7 separate regions of the Homo sapiens genome follow, and all the other regions are linked to region 1. The links are contacts of gene promoters, found by promoter capture Hi-C in blood cells and fetal thymus (Javierre and others, 2016). All regions are on one chromosome and are shown on one strand. Each heading gives the region's core, a stretch centred on a gene start or on the middle of the fragment in contact. The rest is flanking DNA. Distances are from core to core; before and after follow the strand shown. Region 1 holds the start of FAM133B (family with sequence similarity 133 member B). Region 2 overlaps LOC112267986 (a long non-coding RNA gene). Region 3 overlaps VPS50 (VPS50 subunit of EARP/GARPII complex). Region 4 overlaps VPS50 (VPS50 subunit of EARP/GARPII complex). Region 5 overlaps HEPACAM2 (HEPACAM family member 2). Region 6 has its middle 4.9 kb from the start of SAMD9L. Region 7 overlaps SAMD9L (sterile alpha motif domain containing 9 like).

Evidence for each region. Contacts are between HindIII fragments. The CHiCAGO score rates a contact against its expected background, and 5 or more counts as called.
Region 2: a contact is called between a fragment that was not itself captured here and the fragment with the promoter of FAM133B in region 1, in 6 of 17 cell types (naive CD8 T cells, non-activated CD4 T cells, total B cells and 3 more). The highest score is 8.2, in naive CD8 T cells.
Region 3: a fragment that was not itself captured here is called in contact with the fragment with the promoter of FAM133B in region 1 in 1 of 17 cell types (neutrophils); the score reaches 5.2 in neutrophils.
Region 4: a contact is called between a fragment that was not itself captured here and the fragment with the promoter of FAM133B in region 1, in 1 of 17 cell types (neutrophils). The highest score is 5.1, in neutrophils.
Region 5: a contact is called between a fragment that was not itself captured here and the fragment with the promoter of FAM133B in region 1, in 2 of 17 cell types (naive CD8 T cells and naive B cells). The highest score is 5.8, in naive CD8 T cells.
Region 6: a fragment that was not itself captured here is called in contact with the fragment with the promoter of FAM133B in region 1 in 3 of 17 cell types (non-activated CD4 T cells, total CD8 T cells and naive B cells); the score reaches 6.1 in non-activated CD4 T cells.
Region 7: a fragment that was not itself captured here is called in contact with the fragment with the promoter of FAM133B in region 1 in 1 of 17 cell types (fetal thymus); the score reaches 5.4 in fetal thymus.

The regions. Positions count from the first base shown.
Region 1 is chr7:92,589,092-92,591,690 of GRCh38, forward strand. FAM133B (family with sequence similarity 133 member B) reads right to left here and starts at 1,299. Exons shown (of 11, transcript NM_152789.4): 1 at 1,177-1,299. The coding sequence starts at 1,200. RefSeq lists enhancers at 1,027-1,086, 1,177-1,456. The HindIII fragment of the contact is 8,062 bases long and covers 136-2,599 here.
Region 2 is chr7:91,882,451-91,885,049 of GRCh38, forward strand. All of the region lies in intron 1 of LOC112267986 (a long non-coding RNA gene), which reads left to right. Among named protein-coding and RNA genes, the nearest start is that of MTERF1, 3.0 kb to the left of the region's middle. The HindIII fragment of the contact is 4,536 bases long and covers 1-2,599 here.
Region 3 is chr7:93,270,179-93,272,777 of GRCh38, forward strand. VPS50 (VPS50 subunit of EARP/GARPII complex) reads left to right here. Exons shown (of 28, transcript NM_017667.4): 10 at 1,042-1,084; 11 at 2,457-2,555. Among named protein-coding and RNA genes, the nearest start is that of VPS50, 39 kb to the left of the region's middle. The HindIII fragment of the contact is 2,497 bases long and covers 31-2,527 here.
Region 4 is chr7:93,245,908-93,248,506 of GRCh38, forward strand. All of the region lies in intron 2 of VPS50 (VPS50 subunit of EARP/GARPII complex), which reads left to right. Among named protein-coding and RNA genes, the nearest start is that of VPS50, 15 kb to the left of the region's middle. The HindIII fragment of the contact is 9,468 bases long and covers 1-2,599 here.
Region 5 is chr7:93,194,201-93,196,799 of GRCh38, forward strand. HEPACAM2 (HEPACAM family member 2) reads right to left here. Exons shown (of 10, transcript NM_001039372.4): 8 at 1,628-1,701. Among named protein-coding and RNA genes, the nearest start is that of HEPACAM2, 31 kb to the right of the region's middle. The HindIII fragment of the contact is 1,701 bases long and covers 444-2,144 here.
Region 6 is chr7:93,151,986-93,154,584 of GRCh38, forward strand. No RefSeq gene overlaps it. Among named protein-coding and RNA genes, the nearest start is that of SAMD9L, 4.9 kb to the left of the region's middle. The HindIII fragment of the contact is 1,133 bases long and covers 716-1,848 here.
Region 7 is chr7:93,132,138-93,134,736 of GRCh38, forward strand. SAMD9L (sterile alpha motif domain containing 9 like) reads right to left here. Exons shown (of 5, transcript NM_152703.5): 5 at 1-2,599. Among named protein-coding and RNA genes, the nearest start is that of SAMD9L, 15 kb to the right of the region's middle. The HindIII fragment of the contact is 725 bases long and covers 957-1,681 here.

The DNA of each region.
Region 1 (2,599 bases), core at 49-2,548:
TGCAAATAATTGTTGAATAAAAAAGCGAGTTCAAGAAACGTAGCACATTCGTTTTACGTGCATTTTCCTCATTTTGCTACTCAGTGGCTAAAACTTTGTCACAGGCAAGCCCAGAAATTGTCAGGCTGCAACCTAAGCTTATTGTTATTTCATTATGTTTACTACTCATTCAATCTGATTCATAACCTGAGTTTTTCAGCCCCCTCCCCGCCCCAGCGGTCTAGAATACTTTCCTCCCATCTCCGCTTCTCAAAAGCACCTTTTCTTTTGAATGCCTTTAGAATCTCTAACAACTATCAAGGACCATTTCCTACTCTTTCTGCTGTAAGTTATTTATGCATCTCTTTTATCTCATTCACTAGAGTAATAATTTTCATGCCCAGTACTCGCTCACACATCTTGCCTTTTGTGATTTCAATTAATCTGTAAGGTTGTAGATAATAATGATCCCCTTTTATAAACGACGGCACAGAGAAGAAAAGTAACTTGTTCTAGGTCACCCAACTTCCGACGGAACAAAACTGACATTCCAGTTTTGTGTTGGACTCGAAAGCCAACTATTTTCACGCCATTCATTCCCTCACAGTGTCTATGGGGGCCAGGTCCTACAGGGCGCTGGAGACACGAAAGCAAATGCTGCCATCCCATTTTCAAACGGGAGCCTGCTTGTCGCTAAAACCAGGCGCGCTGCTGGCTCTCCGGCACAGGGACCGCGTCGAGGCCTCTGTGCCTCCCTCCCACTTGGGTGCGCAGGAGAGGGGTGCGGACCTGGGGCGGCCGATACCAAGGGGCGGGTGAGTCGGATGCGTCCAAGGGCCTAAGTCTTCGGAGTTACATGGCGGGGCCAGGTGTGGGGGGGGTTCCCCGAGCCCTCGCGGTTCTAAGTGGGCACTGGGGGCCCGCGTACAGCAGGCAAGAGTGCAAACCAGCAGCGCCAGAAAGAGCGACGAGGTGAGGGAAGAAAAAAGGGGCGGGCAAGAGAGAGCTGGGAACCCTAAAGCGCCAACTGCGTGCGCGGCGCACGCGCATCTGGGATCGGCGGAGGGTGCTGGGTCTCCAGGCCCCACGTCTGAGGGCTGCCGCTTGCCCTCCGGCCCGGCCGGGAACAGCGAGGGTTCTCGCTGTCCTGCCGCCGGGCCCTGCGTCGCCCCACTGTTTTCCCGGCTGAGTACTCACCACCCGATTGTCCCGCTTCCCCATGGTGCTGGATCGAGCGCACAGTAGCACGCCGAGGGAAACCGGGCCGGAGAGACTGCCGAAGAGGGCCTGCCGCAGGTCCTCTTGCCGCCTCCCCACTCCGCCTAGAGAGCGGCACCACGCGGACTCGACGGCCGCGCTCTGCTACAGCGCCCCCTATCTCTGTGGAGGACAGGCCGGCTCCAGAGATCGCTGCAGTTGGCGGAGCGCCTGCAGGAGTCCGGTCGTTCATTAGGCACCCAAGAGCAGGCGACGCTGCGCTTCTGCACCGGAGCCCCACCAAGGCAGCTCGCTTCAGTTTGGCCTTGGATTGTTTTGCTTTCTTCCATTCTTTTTTTTTTTTTTTTTTTTTTTTTTTTTTTTAGACAGACTCTCGCTCCGTCGCCCAGGCTGGAGTGCAGTGGCACGATCTAGGCTCACTGCAGCCTCCACCTCCCGGGTTCAAGCGATTTTCCTGCCTCAGCATCCCGAGTAGCTGAGATTACAGGCGGCCGTCAACACGCCGGGCTAAATTTTTTGTATTTTTAGTAGAGACAGGGTTTTACCACGTTGGCCAGGCTGGTCTATAACTCCTGACCTCAAGTGATCCGCCCGCCTCGACCCAAAGTGCTGGGATTACAGGCATGAGCCACTGCGCTTGGCCTTTCTTCCATTCTTGATACACTGAAATACTCATTCGAGGGGACACAAAGATTCTCCCGATGCTTATTTTGTGCTTGACAGAGTGCAAGTGCTGGGGACAAAGTGAGGACCAAAGAGCCTTGGTCCCTCACGGAGCCCATCAGCTGGTGGGGGGAAAGGCAGTGCTGTCATAGACGCTGCTAACGAAATCACCCTTTAATTTCAATCCCATTCATTCATCACCTGTGCATTCATTTCACACTAATTTTTGAACATGTAGTTTGTACAGTTTTCACTAACTGGGTGGCTGGAAGCTGGAGCTGGGTAGGGCACAAAGATGATTAAGAAAAATCCCTATCGTCAAGGAGCCTGTTTATAAACTCGTAAGGGCAATAAACACACACAGGGCCAACTTTACTGCATAGCATATCGTAATATTGGCACTACTGCACTGCAACTTTAAGGAAGATGATCTGGGCTCCAGAGAAGATAATCATATTTAGTAAGTATTTATAGATAAAGCGACCCCTCTGGGTTCATCTTAGCAAGTATCATTAGGAAGTAGTTGAAAATCAATTAGGATCTTCTCCGGACTCTTGGAAATGGCAAAATGGGAATTACACTAATTACATACAAGAACATGCTTTAAAATCATCTTTCCCGATCTCTGCCTCCCTCCCTCCCTGCATTTTTCATGCTACACTATATGACAGATGCTCCCAACTACCATCTTCTGTCTCAAAACTTTTCCAAACTCTCACATGCAGTCCTTGGTGGTTCT
Region 2 (2,599 bases), core at 27-2,526, 710 kb before region 1:
GTTTAGAAGGATAAAGATTTATCTTTGGGAATTTAAAATACTAATAATCAGTCTATCTATTAAGTAAACTACTTACTGCAATTCCTCCAGGTAAAAATTAGTCCCAAAAAATTGGAGATGGCTTTTAAAATGTGAATTTCTAAAATCTATATTCCTTCTGCATGGAAGGAGCTCCTATGTCTGAATTAATATTATTATATATTATGTATATACACACACACAAACTGCTTTACAATCGGCATGTAAAATAAAATTTAGAGATTAAATTAAATAAAATAACCTTTGAGATTATTGAGCCCCAGCCCTCTCATTTTACAAATGAGAACACTGAAACCCATACAGTAGGAACTAGCAAGAGAATGCATGTCTTATATTTTCTTTACCAGTAACTCTAAGATTTATACCACATACTTTGTTGTATTGATTTAGCTATCAATAATTATTTCAGACTTACTTAGGTAACATCACCTATGTTGGTTTTTAGTGATATTTTGTCGGTAAAGGCAGATTGGTTCTTTTGAAAATAAGTTCCATATTTCCCATCAGAAATTTTCTGATTATAAATCTATTTTAATTGCATATTATAAAATACTGAAAGTATAACAATAGAAGTGTAATAATGGTTGGGTTAGGATGTTGTATAATTAATTAGGTTTCTTTCTTATTGTATTTCTTCAGTGATTTTTGAAATGTCATTACCTCCAGTAAGAGAAATGACTACTGCCTCATCGTCCTTTATGATGTTTTACAATAGGACCTGTATATACTTTGCCTGTATTTCATTTGTTTATTCAATGAACATTTTTTCAGCACCTTCACATTCCAGGCCCTGTTTTCAAGTTAGGGGACATAGTGGAAACCAAGACAAAGCCCCTGCCTTCCTGGACCTTATTTCTAGTGGCAGGTCTTACTCTCAGCCTGAATGTCTTCTCCTCTACATGCCTCTTCCATCTCCTTCCCCAGGACCATAGCAGACCCATGTCCCTACCAAGTTGATGTAATTAAGAAAAATAAAGTGGCTGAGTGTAGTGATTCACACCTGTAATCCCAACACGTTGGACTTAGATACTCAGAAGCTGGGCTGAAAGTCAAGTCTGAAGACAGAATCTGTGCTGTATTCAGAAGTGCCTCTGCCTTTTATAATTAAGAATTTTTTGACTGTGCCAAATGTGCCTGTTCCTCTGCCCTGGAAGTGTCCTTCTTGCTTTATGCAAATAGATTTCTGGCAAACCACAGCCCCTCAATTGACCATTCATTCATGTTTGAATCTCAGCAAGCCCAATTAAGGTCAAAAAGAAAGTGGCCCTTCATTCCTCCCACTCTTACCTTCAGTTGATACAACACCCGCAGACTCCTGGATTCAGTAGACAAATGCCTGCCCCACCCCCACATCAACTTCACAGACAGACCTGCTAGCTTCCTATGTGACTTACTTGAGGGCCCTCAGAGGACCATCAGGTCTCTACCCAGGACTCCCTTATTCCATTCTCTTGCCTGCAGCTGTTTTGGTTGCCAAAAGCATAAAATGTCTCCCAGTTGTTCAAGGCTAATTAAAGTGGTAGATAAAGTTACCCAGAGAGTCTCAGGTTAACACTTTGTTGGCAAAAAATAAAAAAGATTGCTTAATTTCCCCCCTTTTCACAATTGCTTTTTAACAATTTAAGATTTCTAAAGATTTTACTTCAGGCAACTTTATTTCTCTGAAGTGTGCCTAAAGACTTCCTGAGTCAGCTTTCATGCTCCCACACTCATTACCACAAGGGTCTGTGGCAAAGAACTGGATACTTAGCCTAGCAAATTTGCTGATTCCAGACCTGATATGACAGCAATTCCCATGGTAGTTGGATCAGCCTGACAGAGTTGGCCAAGAGAAACACAATAATCATTTGAGATGCTATTTAGCCTGGTGAGTTTAAGTACCTTTTGGATTGTTTGATCCTACTGTACCAAACCTTCAATTAATTACCGTGAAATGATTCTTAGTCATTGGTAGAAAAATTAGTCTCAACAGAGAGGAGGGGAGCAAACATTCACAAGATGAAATACTATTTTCACTGTCGAAAACTATTTTCCTTTCTATTTAAGGCGTTTCTTGAAATTCCTCCTTTAGAGATTTAGTCCTTGGTATAAACTGTGCTGATTTAAAATTGCAAATGTATTTGAAAGGGAAAGCATATTAAGCCAAAGGTCAGCAACCTTTTCCTATAAAGGACCAAATAGTATTTCAGGCTTTGTGGGTCACATACTGTCTCTGTTGCAAATTCTCTTTTTTCTTTCCATATTTCACAACCCATTAAAAGTATAAAAACCATTCTTAGCTTGGGGGCTGCTGGGCCACGGGCCATAGTGTGCTAAGACCTGCATTAAAAACGATAGTGAACTACTCACATATAACTAACTTCATTTGTTGATTACTATATTAAAGACATCCAAAAACTAGGAATTTTAAGAGAAAGTACATGGAGAGAAAAATAATATTTGAAAACATTTATGTAATGCTATCTGCCATGCACAATTCTAATCATTTCACCTCTATTAACTCATTTTGTTGTATAATGGAAGTAATATTATCTCCATTTTACAAATGGGGAAACTGAGA
Region 3 (2,599 bases), core at 29-2,528, 680 kb after region 1:
GTGTCCTAAGTGTATGAGTATAACTCAGTAAGCTTTTATAAAGTAAACATAGTTATGTAATTACCACCTAGAAGTAGAAACAGAGTATTTCTGACACCCCACAAACTTCTCGCATGTCTCATCCCAGTCATTCTTCTAAGGTAAGCGCTGTTCTGGCTTCTGTCACCAAAATTAGTTTTGCTTGTTTAGAACTTTAAATAAATGGAAGCATACAGTATATACTATTTTTTACTGACTTCTTTTGCCAAACATATTTTTGTGGTTCACATAAATTTTAATTGCTATAGGATTTTATTTTATGAATGTATCACATTTTGCTTATCTAATTATTCTAGACAATTGTGTTGCCTCAGGTTTTTGCCTATTAAAAATAATGCTGCAAGGATTCTGTGTGCTTTTCTGTTCAGTATGTATCCAGGACTAGACCTGCTGGGAGGTAGAGTGTGTGTTGTTTCAGTAGATATTAGGGTTTTCCAAGAGGTTATATCAGTTTCCCCTTCCTCTAGCATCAGATGAGTGGTTCTGTTTGCTCAACGTCCTTGCCAACATTTGGTGGTGTCATTTTTAATTTTTTAAAAATATTTTTAGCCATTTTTTTCATTCGTTACAGTGTTTTTATAGTATTAATTTGCATTTCCTGAATGACCAATACACTTGGGACAGATAGAATAAAAATAAAGGGCAAAAGTCTTCAGATCACTGAGAAAGAGGATATTCAATTGGCTGTTAAACACACAAACATTGTTTATATAGACACACTGTTTATGTAAAAGTTACCAATTTTAATTCTTCAGTTTTTTTATTTTTATCTGTAGATTCTTTCTTTCTACTCACGCAATCCTGTTGCTGCTGCTAATGACTCTTATTCCCTTCTAATACTTTTTCTTATTGCATTGTCTATATGTAGAATTCAGCAGCATGTCTTACGATCTATACTCTTAATCTTTGAATTTATGGATTAATTATTCAGTTAGTATGTATTTATTTAGCACTTAGTTTGTCTCAGAAATAGAAAAAAACTGTTTTTTTTTTTTTTAATAGTGAACTGAATTCAAAGCTGCAAGATACTTTGGAACAGATTGAGGTAAGAAGTATTATATCCTAACCTTAATGAGTTTTTCTTTTCAGAAGTTTTTGAATAGCCTAGGTGCAACATTGTGTTTTGGCTTTTATGTTATTACCAATGTCTCTAGATCACTGTATTTCTTGATTTTCATTTGGAATATCTATTTATGGTCAAGTTAGTGTAAAAATTTACTTGTAAATTATGGGATCTCAAAACAGCATTTGAAAATATTGCCATTTCCAAGAAAAATTTCCAAACTATTAGTCATAGGTGTGTTCTCATATAAATTATATAATAGCCAAAATACTTTCTATGTATTAATTATATTTTAATTATCAGTTACTTTATTGTTTAGTATAGTGAGTTAATTTACCTGTAAGTAATTATTGGCTGATGAAAACCCTCCAAAATTCCTAAACCTCATAATGATACTCACATAGTTCATCAAAAACGTAGAAACTAAAAAGGAAGAGATATGTAATTATGAGCATGAAGCATGTTTTGCCTGTTACATATATTCAAAATTCATCTCTTTCCTTGACAATCTTTGCAAAGGAGGGTATTCATTTTAATAAATAAGAATTATTTGTATTTGGTTTCTTCTAGTCTTTTATTGTTTTCCTGATAAGAGTATTTATAAAAGTTGAGATTGGACTTTCAAATTACCTTTTGAGAAAGTAATTTTTGACCACAAATGCAATTATTTGCTATTAAATAATTGTGAGAATGACAGTTTATTTGATAGTCACAGAAACAACTGCTTTGAGTGGCTTAAGTTAACAATTCCCTGAATATTTTAATGAAGGCTTTCTTTTGAGAGCCCAGGATTTCTTCACTTTTAATAGATATTATTCTGTATTTATATTAAAAACTCTTATTTCAAAGTAAAATCATTGAAAAAGAAATCCATAAAGCATGGTAATTTAGATAAAAGAGCTTAAACCTTGAGGAATATACTTTTAAATTCAATGTAGTTTTGTTGAGAATTCCTTTTCGTTGATTAGAGAAAGATTGTTTTATTGTTCTCCAGTAGTCCCACAAATTCAGTTTATATAAGATTTTAGCAGATGCTTGAGGAAACATTAAGTAGTAGTAAGAGTAAGATTCATTACAAAACTATTATTTTGTTTCCTGTAAAACACTAGGCATGGGTTTTAAGGCATAGAAATTCACATGTTAATATCTTGGTAAACTTGATTATAGTTGCTAATAAATTTACAATTGCAATTTATAACTTTATTTAAATTTGTTTTTGACTTCTAAATCTGGTATGATAGTAAATGTATTTAAATGTTAACTAAAAGTGAGAAATTAGTCTTAATGTTTTCTTCTCATTGCCTTGAAAACATAATTCCTTAACCATGTCTTGCTTCTTCTTTTAATTATATAGGAACAGCTGGACGTAGCTCTTTCCAAAATCTGCAAGAATTTTGACATTAACCATTATACCAAGGTTCAACAAGCTTATCGACTTCTTGGAAAAACACAGGTTTGTTACAAAAGGATGTTTGGATTTTTCCTTAATCAGGAATT
Region 4 (2,599 bases), core at 34-2,533, 660 kb after region 1:
GGTTTTAGGGTATCTGTGATCTTGAAATAAGTTTTGAATCCTGTTTCATTTGGAAAGAGATAAAATCTATTTCTGTTCAGTGATTAATGACTTTTGTAATACTGACTGAATATTGAAAACTTCATGTTTTGTTCTTACTTCTAGCTCTGTTTAGATTTTGGTCACTAAACGCTTCTTTTTTTTTTTGCTTTCAGTTAGAGCCCTAACGTGATGTTAACTTTGGTAAGATTATAGCTTCCGTTTTCCCTATAACAGAATAGATTTTTTATGTTGACGAATGAAGAAATGCAAACAGTAAAAAAAAGTCTTTGATCAAAGATTTGCTGTGGCAAACCGCAAATCATGCTTGTAAAATTTCTCCACTTTCCTTCTCAACACACACACACACATACACTGCATTCTGCCATTGAGTTATATAATCAGCTATATAAGCACTATATTCTGCCACTGAGTTATATAATCAGGTGTATAATGTGGACTGGTCTAATGAGCTAAGTACAGAAAGAGGAGTTGGTGTGCATTTCATTTTTTATTCTATATATTTTTTTCAGAGTTTTGAAATCTGACCTGTGAAGTAAAGATTTGCATTCATATTTTTGTTTGAATAAAAACTAGTACTGAAGATTATGAGATTCCAAGCTGTTATGTGGGTTTAGAAATTAGGTTAAATTACTTTTCAAAATTGCAGAAAATATTGAGTTTAATAATGGTAAGGAAAACTGTTAAGCTGTCATAACTTTTTATAAAAGTGAATAGAATTAAGAGCCCTGAATTTGGATTAGTATTTTTAATTAGTGTGGTATTTTAGATAATTTAAAAGTAGTGATTAAATACAAAATTAGTAGTCTCTCTTTTTTTCCTCCTAAACTTGAATATATTCCCTTGAGTGATGAACTCTTAAGTGGAAAATTTTTTGGTAAAGTTATAGCCTAGTTCCTTAGAAACCACAAACATACTGGGAATGTATCATAATACCTTACATTTGAGGGCTCAAATTGTTTTACATAGCTGAATCCCCAATTCCCATAATACCTTTTTTGTTGTATTGAGAGGAAAAGTAGCTTTGCTAAATCAAAGATGTTGACTTAAATCTCTAATATGATTGTTTTTCTTCACTTTTCATAAAGTTATATTTCTGATGTACATTTATGTACATGTTCATGTAGCTTTATCTCAGACATGATCAAAATAGAAAAATAGACTAGGTGGTATTATATGCAACCTTATTGCATGTTGTGACTGCTGGAAAAACACAGCCTCTAAAACGTTGAATTCTGCTTGGTTTATTACATTAAGAAAATATTGAATATTTTTGCCTGTTTTTGATATAGCCTAACCTGAGGCAGTGATATGTGTTAAGATGTTTTACTTTTAGTGAAGAAAATATGGTTCTAATATACAAAAAATATGTTGAATTTAAACAAATCTCAGTTGTTGCATTTGTCTTTTGGCATACATGCAGACTCTCCCTTGTGACATTTTTCTATCCTGCGGAAGCCACCCTTTATTGCTTTAACCTGTTGTGCACTTTCTCGATTCAATATTTTTACTTTTGCTTTGCTTTATATTTGTAACCCTATTCTCCCAATTTCTAAATCTGAAATTCTACCTATTCTCTCATATTTTCCAAATGCCACCACTTCCATCAGATGTGAACCCACCGTCTGATGCCTTCATTCTGTTTGCATCACCCTCATGTTCTGCTGTGCATTGTCATTGCTTACTTATTCATCTGACCCCTCCTATTATTTTAACAACTGTTTGAGGGAAGAGCTATATTTTACTCATTTTCGTTCCTGTATGACCTAGTATGGGAAATTTTTACATAATGGGAATTTAAAAAATTGTTAAATGAAATTTGTTTTTTAGGGGAAGATAAGGTTATAGAGCTTTGAAAGTAGGCAGGTTAGTTTCTAATGATAGTATGGGAGAGAGATTTGATTTGTTCATTTTTTGCCTTTTATGCTTTTGTTTTCTCCTCTTTGTTATTCCAATTCATTACTTTAATTGTAGTTTTTTTCTCCAGCTTTAATTCTGGGGTAATGCTGATAATACTTTTTGCTTAGTTGATTACCATTGACAGCAAGTTGTGTGGCAGCACATTTGGTAGCCTGTAGTTGACAAATTATTTTTGGACTTTCAAGTTTTAGAGAGCATTTATATCACTATTAATGATACTATGTATTTATTAATTATTATGTGACATAAAATTTATTATAAAAATATTTTAAACATTTTTAAGACTGAAATATTTTATCCTAGACTTAGTTTGAATATCTAATATTATTATAATTTTTTTCTTAAATCATATGTTTAAGTATGGTGTAAGAAGTTCCATTTGGTATTCATTTCCCCCAATTTTGCCTTGTAATTTTTTTATAGGAAACTTTTTGTTCATTTTGTTTATGTAAAATTTGGGCTCACACCTATGTATTGGTTCTATTTTAGGTGAAGAATTATGTATTTTTGTACATCTCCCACCCTAGGGAATCAGTTTCTATTAAATTATGTAGTAATTGTGTTAAGAATAGGCAATCTGGTTGCTTCTGTTTATTTTTCTAATTTACATGTGTAAAATATTCCTAAATCAGTTCACATC
Region 5 (2,599 bases), core at 44-2,543, 610 kb after region 1:
AATTGAGTAGTGATTAATCACATGGTAAGATTTAAAATTTCTTACATAAATCTCACTCCTTTCCAGTGAATTCCTAGGAATAAATGTTTGCATTATTTTAAATAAAAAAACTGAAACTCCTTATTCAAAAATTCAATTATAAGTCTTAGCTCTTCAGTTTCCTGCTCTCCAATTTGAAGCCACACCTCAGAGTGGTGCTTTCTACCATCGTGAGAAGCTGTTTGAAATAACTGATCCATCAAATATTTGTTTTTGTCTTTTGGTTGTGGAAGTGAAGGTGAGCCAATCCTGCCTGAGATTGAATAGGGTATTGCAAAGCCTTTGCACAGTAGTTCTTTGCTTCATCTGTGACTGTTACTGACTCACCCTTAGGGAGGATGAAATCCAATCAGTCCCTCTCCATTACTCACATGACATTTCTCAAATAAACTCTGTGGCGAGGAAGCTTACTAGATGAACCTTATACACTGATAGAATCCTCTGAACAAGAGAAGTCACGATTCCCTAATGGCAAATAGTCTTTTTAACAAATGGAAATGAGAATGCCTGGAAGCAAGTAATCTGTTTTTATGGTGCCCTTCCTCAAATGGACTCTCATAGCAGAATAAGGAAGCAGAGGAAAACTTGGTTCTATACAAATCTATAAAAATGTTAATAATCTGATTTGCTCACAGAAACATTCTGCATGTCTGTTAAGAAAAACTGATTACTTTAAAAGATCTTTTTTTTTTTTTTTTTTCCGGACTGAAATGACTTCAACTATATGAAAGCTCCTTTGCCATCTCATGCACCTTTAGGGCAATAATAAAGATGTATACTTGCATACTTTGGGCCTATATGGTAACTTCCTTCTGAAGCATGAGGTATCTTCAAGGGTGTGATCAATTGTCTTTGCAATGTTGTCAAAAGATATGAGGGGGCAATAAAGGGAAAACTGAGGAACAGAGAGAGTTTAGTAAAGTGATGGGTTGCAGTCACCCAAGTGATGCAGAATGACTTAAATTAGGGTCTCCTGATCCGCTGTTTATTCAGTATTTATTTATTTGAGACAGGGTCTTACTCTGCTGCCCAGGCTGGAGTGCGGTAGTGTGATCACGGCTCACTGTAGCCTTGAACTCCTGGGCTCAATGATCCTCCTGCCTCGGTCTCCCAAGAAGCTGGGACCAGAGGCATGCATAACCATGCTTGGCTAATTTTTAAATATTTGTTGGGATGGGGTCTTTGCCCAGGCTGATCTCAAACTCCTGGGCTCAAGTGATCTTTCCATCTCAGCCTCCCAAAGCCCTAGGAATACAGATGTGAGCCACCACGCCCAGCTTGTTTATTCAGTTCTCTTGACTTTCAACCTAGTTAGTTCTCTCTTCACTGAGATTACCAGGTAAAGACTATTTATGAATTAGCATAACTTCCTTATTTGTGTTAGCTTTACTTATAAAGGCGAAGTAAGATGCTTTAGCTTCCCAAATCTGGCAATGCCATTCATTACGGAGTAAGTCAACACTGCTTAATGCAGTAATGGGTAATGCAGCCATTTGACCACACTGCCCAGTGCTTAAACAAATGCTTTTTACACCTCTGGTGAAGCAGAATTCTACTTCTCGGTTAATCAGCCACTAGGAAAACCAACCCTGGAAACACCAGAAACATCTGGAAAAGCAACAAATTCATATATTCCGAAGTCATCCAGAGCATCTTCATGGCCTGAAATGTAAAACAAATACTGCTTACAAACCGAATGCCTTGATTTGCTGTTGTTTTTTAAACCTTTGTAAAACTTATCTTTATTGTCTGTTTTAAATGGTATAGGTACAAAATGAATTTAACATTTCCTAATTCCTATAGTCGTATTGCCATTAAGCAGTGTTGGAAATCACTCTTTCTGAAGCTGAGAATCGAAACTGAATTGGAACAATTATTCTTAAAGCCAGACGTGAGAATAGCCTGTTACATCTTTAAATACACACAGGTGGGCAACCTTGGCCTTTGTAACTTGCAGTTACCAGAGACTCATGGTCACCAGGGTTTAAGCCTGAAGGTCACACCAGTTCTTGATCCACCCGTAATATCTACTGCACCCTGTTAGATCTAACAGATCTAACAGATGTAACAGATCATCAGAACAAAAAGAGTAAATAGCTAACTGAAGCTTCCCATACATAAAAAGTAAAATACATTACACTATCAATCCACATAAACTATCATCTATAGAATGATGGCGGGGGAGGTGGTTAGGAGGAACCAGATAGCCTCTGGGGCCCTTGCCAGCTCTGACATTCTGTCACTTATAAGTCAGGAAGGGCTAGAAAAGAGGAAGAAGGCCCACATTTATTACACATCCAGGCATCATATCAGGCACTCCACCTATATCATTTTATTTAATTCTCATAGCAACCTTAAGGGGGAAGTTTTTATCCCTATTATATAGAAGAGGAAGTTGCGGTTAAGAAAAATAATTTTCCTAAGGTGACATGAGGGGAAATAAAACTGAAACTTGGCTCCCTGTGATTTTGTGGCCTGAGCCAAAACTTTGTTAACTTATAATAAGTCAGTACAGTCAATATTGATGATAATGAGGGTTACAGTGGGGACAAAGAAGCAA
Region 6 (2,599 bases), core at 32-2,531, 560 kb after region 1:
TTCCTGTGAGTAAATATCAGCCTTTGTTGCTAAACATCCTGATATAACACTTAAAGTATGCCATATGTTGAATCCAGCTACCTATTTGCCTGAACCCACAAGTATCGTACATTATTCTTGTATATAAGTTATGCTGCAAGTTTACTCCAGCTGTCCAGATTTAAAGGATAAGCCTCTAGATAATCTTGAGGCAGTATGGTTTACAGATGGAAGTAGCTTTGTGCACCAGGGAGATGGGAAAGCTGGGTATGCCGTTGACAGTCAACACGAGGTAATCGAATCTCAGGCCTTACCAGCTTCTACCTCAGCTCAAAAGGCGGAATTAATAGCTCTTATTAGAGCCCTGCAATTGGGAAAGGACTTAAGAATTAACATTTCACTGATTCTAAGTATGCCTTCCTGATACTTCATGCTCATGCTGCTATCTGGAAGGAATAGGGACTCCTAACTGCTAAGGGTTCCCCTATAAAACATCACTTAGAAATTCTGGGCCAGGCACGGTGGCTCATGCCTGTAATCCCAGCACTTTGGGAGGCTTAGGAGTGGGGATTGGGAAGGGGGGGGGGTGGATCACTTGAGGTCAGGAGTTCGAGACCAGCCTGGCCAACATGGTGAAACCCCGTCTCTACTAAAAATACAAAAAAAATTAGCCGGGCATTGTGGCAGGTGCCTGTAATCCCAGCTCCTCAGGGGGCTGAGGCAGAAGAATTGCTTAAGCTTGGCAGGTGGAGGTTGCAGTGAGCTGAGAAAAGAGGCTCTTCCCTTAGTGTGACTAAGGGAAACTCCTTTGCAGATGCAGCTGCTAAGGCCACAGTGTTAAAGGAGCCCCCAGCCATGATAATAACAGAACCAAGATATATTAAAGAGGAAGAGGAATGGACTGAAGGTCCATTGAAGGTCAGGGTTTAATTGAAGATCATTCTGGCTGGCTTATCAATGATAACAAACTGTTGACACCAGGTGCTAATCACTGGAAAATAGTTAAGCATTTGCATGACTCTACTCATTTGGGAAGCGATTCCCTGTATCAATCAATGTCACAGCTTTTTGTAGGAAAAGACTTACTTAAAACAGCAAAGCAGGTGACTCAGGCCTGTGAACTATGTGCCCAGAATAACCCAAATAACCGATCTTTACCTCCTCCTCTAGTAAGGCCTGTTCGGCACAGAGAAATGTACCTTGGTGAAGATTGGCAAATAGACTGTACTCAGATAGTCCAATGTAAAGGGTTTAACTATTTATTAGTATTCGTTGACACCTTTACTGGTTGAATTGAGGCTTTTTCTATCTGGTCTGAAAAGGCAATTGAAGTTTCTAAGCTCCTACTAAAGGAAATAATTCCCAGATTTGTGCTGCCTAAGAGCTTACAGAATGATAATGGCCCATCTTTCACAGCAACAATTACCCAAAACACATCTTCAGCCCTATGAATTCCTTAGTAGCCCAACTGCAGCTAAACTCCTGGGAATAAACAGCTGGGTCCACTTACCTCAAATTAAACCTGACTCTTACGAAGTCCCACAGACCTGTGGAACACAAGAGACTGATCCTGTTTATTCCTGTGAGTGAATCAGTGACCTCTGACTCCTGTTTGGAAGAAATGAAAGGGAAGGGTTACAGAAAAATATAGATTGACAATCTACTTTTGGGTATAAGTTGGAATCATGCAGAGAGTAACTTATTTACTGAGTGGGCACAGACTTTAGCCTCTACATAATCAGTCAAACTGTTGGGTAGGTGGAGAATTGCCACTTTCCTCCACTTCTGGGTTGCTCTGACATATTCAATCGGCCAGCTTAAGTTTGTGGGGGACTTTATTATGTTCCAGACTATTACCTAGCCTGTGAAAGCTTTAGACACTCATCTCTCTGACATCGATGTACCATCAGTTGACCCTTTATCGACTTGGTTCCAACAACTTCCCAGTTTTTGGAAAGCTTCCCTGTTTAGTTTACTTGGAATGATTTTACTTATTTTGCTTTGCTGTTGTGGAATATATTGCAGTTGTACTTTTTGTGTAGGAATGCAAGACAAGCTCACTCAATGCTTTCTTAAATTGAACACTTACTAATCTTCACTTAATCTTCTGTGGCTTAAGCTACTCAGTCTGTGGTACTTTGTTATGGCAGCCTTGGCAAATTAATACAGTGCCATTAAATTTCTGCTTGCTGATTCACCATTGATTTCATTTTCTTTGAAAACTAAAACTTTTTTTTGGAGGTTATAGATATCAGGATGTATATATTAAATGTGTACAATGTTTTTCTGAATCAATTATACCTCAGTAAAGCTAAATATCATTATTTCTTCAACTGTGACTATAATAAAAGTTTATTTTCAAACTTAAAAAATACAGAATATACAAAGAAGGGAGAAAACCTATGTTATCCAAATACAATATCTATTTCCTGTTGTTTACTGCCTTTCTTTTTTTTCTATATGTATTTAAAAATATATAAATTTAATATTTGAGAAATTTCCCAGGCCGGAAAGCATGTAACTTCAAATAGGCAATGTACAATGCCCAGTAATCTAGGTTTTATTTAGCTTTGTCTTTCTCTCTCAAAAAGCATATTTCGGAGATTCTCAACTGCGCATC
Region 7 (2,599 bases), core at 69-2,568, 540 kb after region 1:
CAGAAGAACCATATAATCAATAAAAAAGTCAAAGCACCTTTTCAGATCTGATTGTAAATTTTTTAGGTGGGATGTGAACTTGCTAAGAGCCAAATAACATTCATTTCTGGGATCAGGAGGAATGGTCCACTTTCCTGATAAAAATTGCACCATATGTTTTTTGGATAATTCATTTTCTTTGTGGAAAAAGGGAGTGAGCTGAAGAATCTGGATAGTGTAAAGACCAACTTCTATTTCACCCAAGAAACAAGCTGTGTTATACATGTCATATCGTCTCTGGGACTTCTGTGGTGACCAGTTCTCGGTTTCATAGTTTTTACTATCAGTTTGCCTTTGGGATTCTTTGAAAGCTCTTGAGGCTTTTTCCGCAGCTTCTAGGAGATGTGTTAGGTCATTAACAGTAATGCTCCTACAGTTTTTGTTCCCATCCAACCACCATTTGATTTCACTTTTGTAGACTTGACCTAGTGTATCTGAAATATAGGAATTTTTAGGTGCTTTCATTTTGGCCTGACGTGCCCAGTCCAGAGCTGTGTTAAAGTCCTTCTCTTTAATGTAGAAATGTCTTGCTAAGGCTTGACAAATGAATGCATTTTGTGGGAATCGTCTACTTCCTGCACTCAAGACCTTTTCAATGTCTTTATTCTGTAAAGCTTCCATTAATGGGGAAAACAGAGTGTCTGTTTCATCTCCATACACCTTGCGCTGTCTTGTAAGCAGAAGAGTTTGAACATCATGTTGAAATTTGTCTCTTCCTATTCCAGAATCATAGAATAAATTCTCTTCTAATATATTCAATGCAATTTGACATTTATCCAAGTGATAGCTTCTTTCCAGTTCTTTTAGACAGTACAGGGCAATCAGAGGGTGAATGATACGCACACCTGTGTATCTCCCATATTCTGCAACTTCTGTTTTTATTAGAAGTGTAGAATAAGTTCCCATCTTGTCTTCTAAGCTTTCAGGTTCCCAGGGTGTACTAGTGTATATGATTCCCAAAAATATTTCACACTGTGAAACTGAAATTGTAGAGTCAGTAACATAAGAGCTGAGTAAAGCCAGGAAGGAAATGAGTTGTGCTTCCTTGCTGTCAACATCCTGTCCTTTTAGGATATTCCTGACTACATTTTCTATATATGTTTCATCAAAATTGCTTTTCATGATCATGAAGGAATAAAAGTTTTCACAGTTCTTGTGCTGCTTTTCAATTTCCTTCAGTTTGGCACCAAAAGCTCTTTGTTCCTTGGAAGAAAGTTGGTAATTTAGTGCAATACTGTCTGCCAATTTTGCACTTTCATCTGGATTCCGGGATCTCATGCAGTTTAAGATAATTACCAATGTTTTTTCATATCGCAAATCCTTTTCTGCTAAAACGGAATGGATGGCATTTTGTAGAAAGTAGACATTTTCTTGTTCTTCAAAATCATCCACAAGGAGAAGCACAGGAATGTAATCCTGATGGCTCTTTGCCCTATAGGTGACCAGATTGATCACTTGCTCTGCAATTTCTGCAAAATCAGTTGTCTTGTTTTTTAACACAGCACATCTGAAGTTTTTCTTTAAGTCCCAGAGAACATGCATAGCCAGTGTGGTACCTCCACAGCCTGGATGATGATAAAGATTGATGATTTTTGCAAATATTGGTTTAGGAGACTCTGCCCAGCAGTGTATTAAATCTTTAAGCTTTTCATAACTGTCCCTTTTAACAAAATCTGAAGAATAGTTTTCAGAAGAAAAATAGAAGTTCCACCAGGATACTTTGCCACCTCGATAAAAGTGTTCTTCTTTTGATTTCTTAAACTCCAGGAATTTAGATTTGTCTTTCTCGATGTCTGTCTCTGTACACTCATTTTCACAGAGGATTTCCAGTGCAGTCAAGACATCCTCTTTCTTTTTCTCTAGGATAACTGAAGAAGATCCACGGGCGGGCAAAAACCTTCTTGATGACCGAGTCACCGATTTTAGTTTAAGGATAGTGCTGTTTACCAGTTCTATATTTAAAGTGGAAATACTGTGGTTTGTTAGTTCATCTTCCATCTTCATTCTTGTTTGTAGTAGATCTTTCCATCGTTGATAAATATGTGAGTTTACAGAGATACACAACATATTTTCCATTCCTTTGAGAGCTTGATAGAAAGCCCAGAAAGTTTCAATGAGTGGATCTCCTGGGCTTTCCACTGAAGAGAGTAATAGAAACACTACCAAAAATTTTCCTCTTGTCATTATATTTTCATCTGTGAGAAATAAAATTAGTTTCCTGACTTCTGAAGCTCTTTCTCTCTGCCATAAATGTGGTTCTAGAGGTTTATATGTCTCGCTTTTCAGGTCTGATCTGCCGTTGCAGAAAATCCAGCTGGGCTGTTGGTAAAGATTAAGAGTAGAAATCTTCTCCCACATGTTAGTTGTCTTGTCTTCATATTGATTTGGAAAGTGAAGGTTTGCCACCCGACTTTCTTTGTAAGCTTTGACCACTCCATTGATCATAGATTCAGGATCAAACTCCAACACAGCAAACCATTTAATTTCTTTTAAAAAATCTAAGTGCTTTATTTGGTTTGGATGGCATTTATTTGTTACAAGAATGTACCAGTCATAGTAT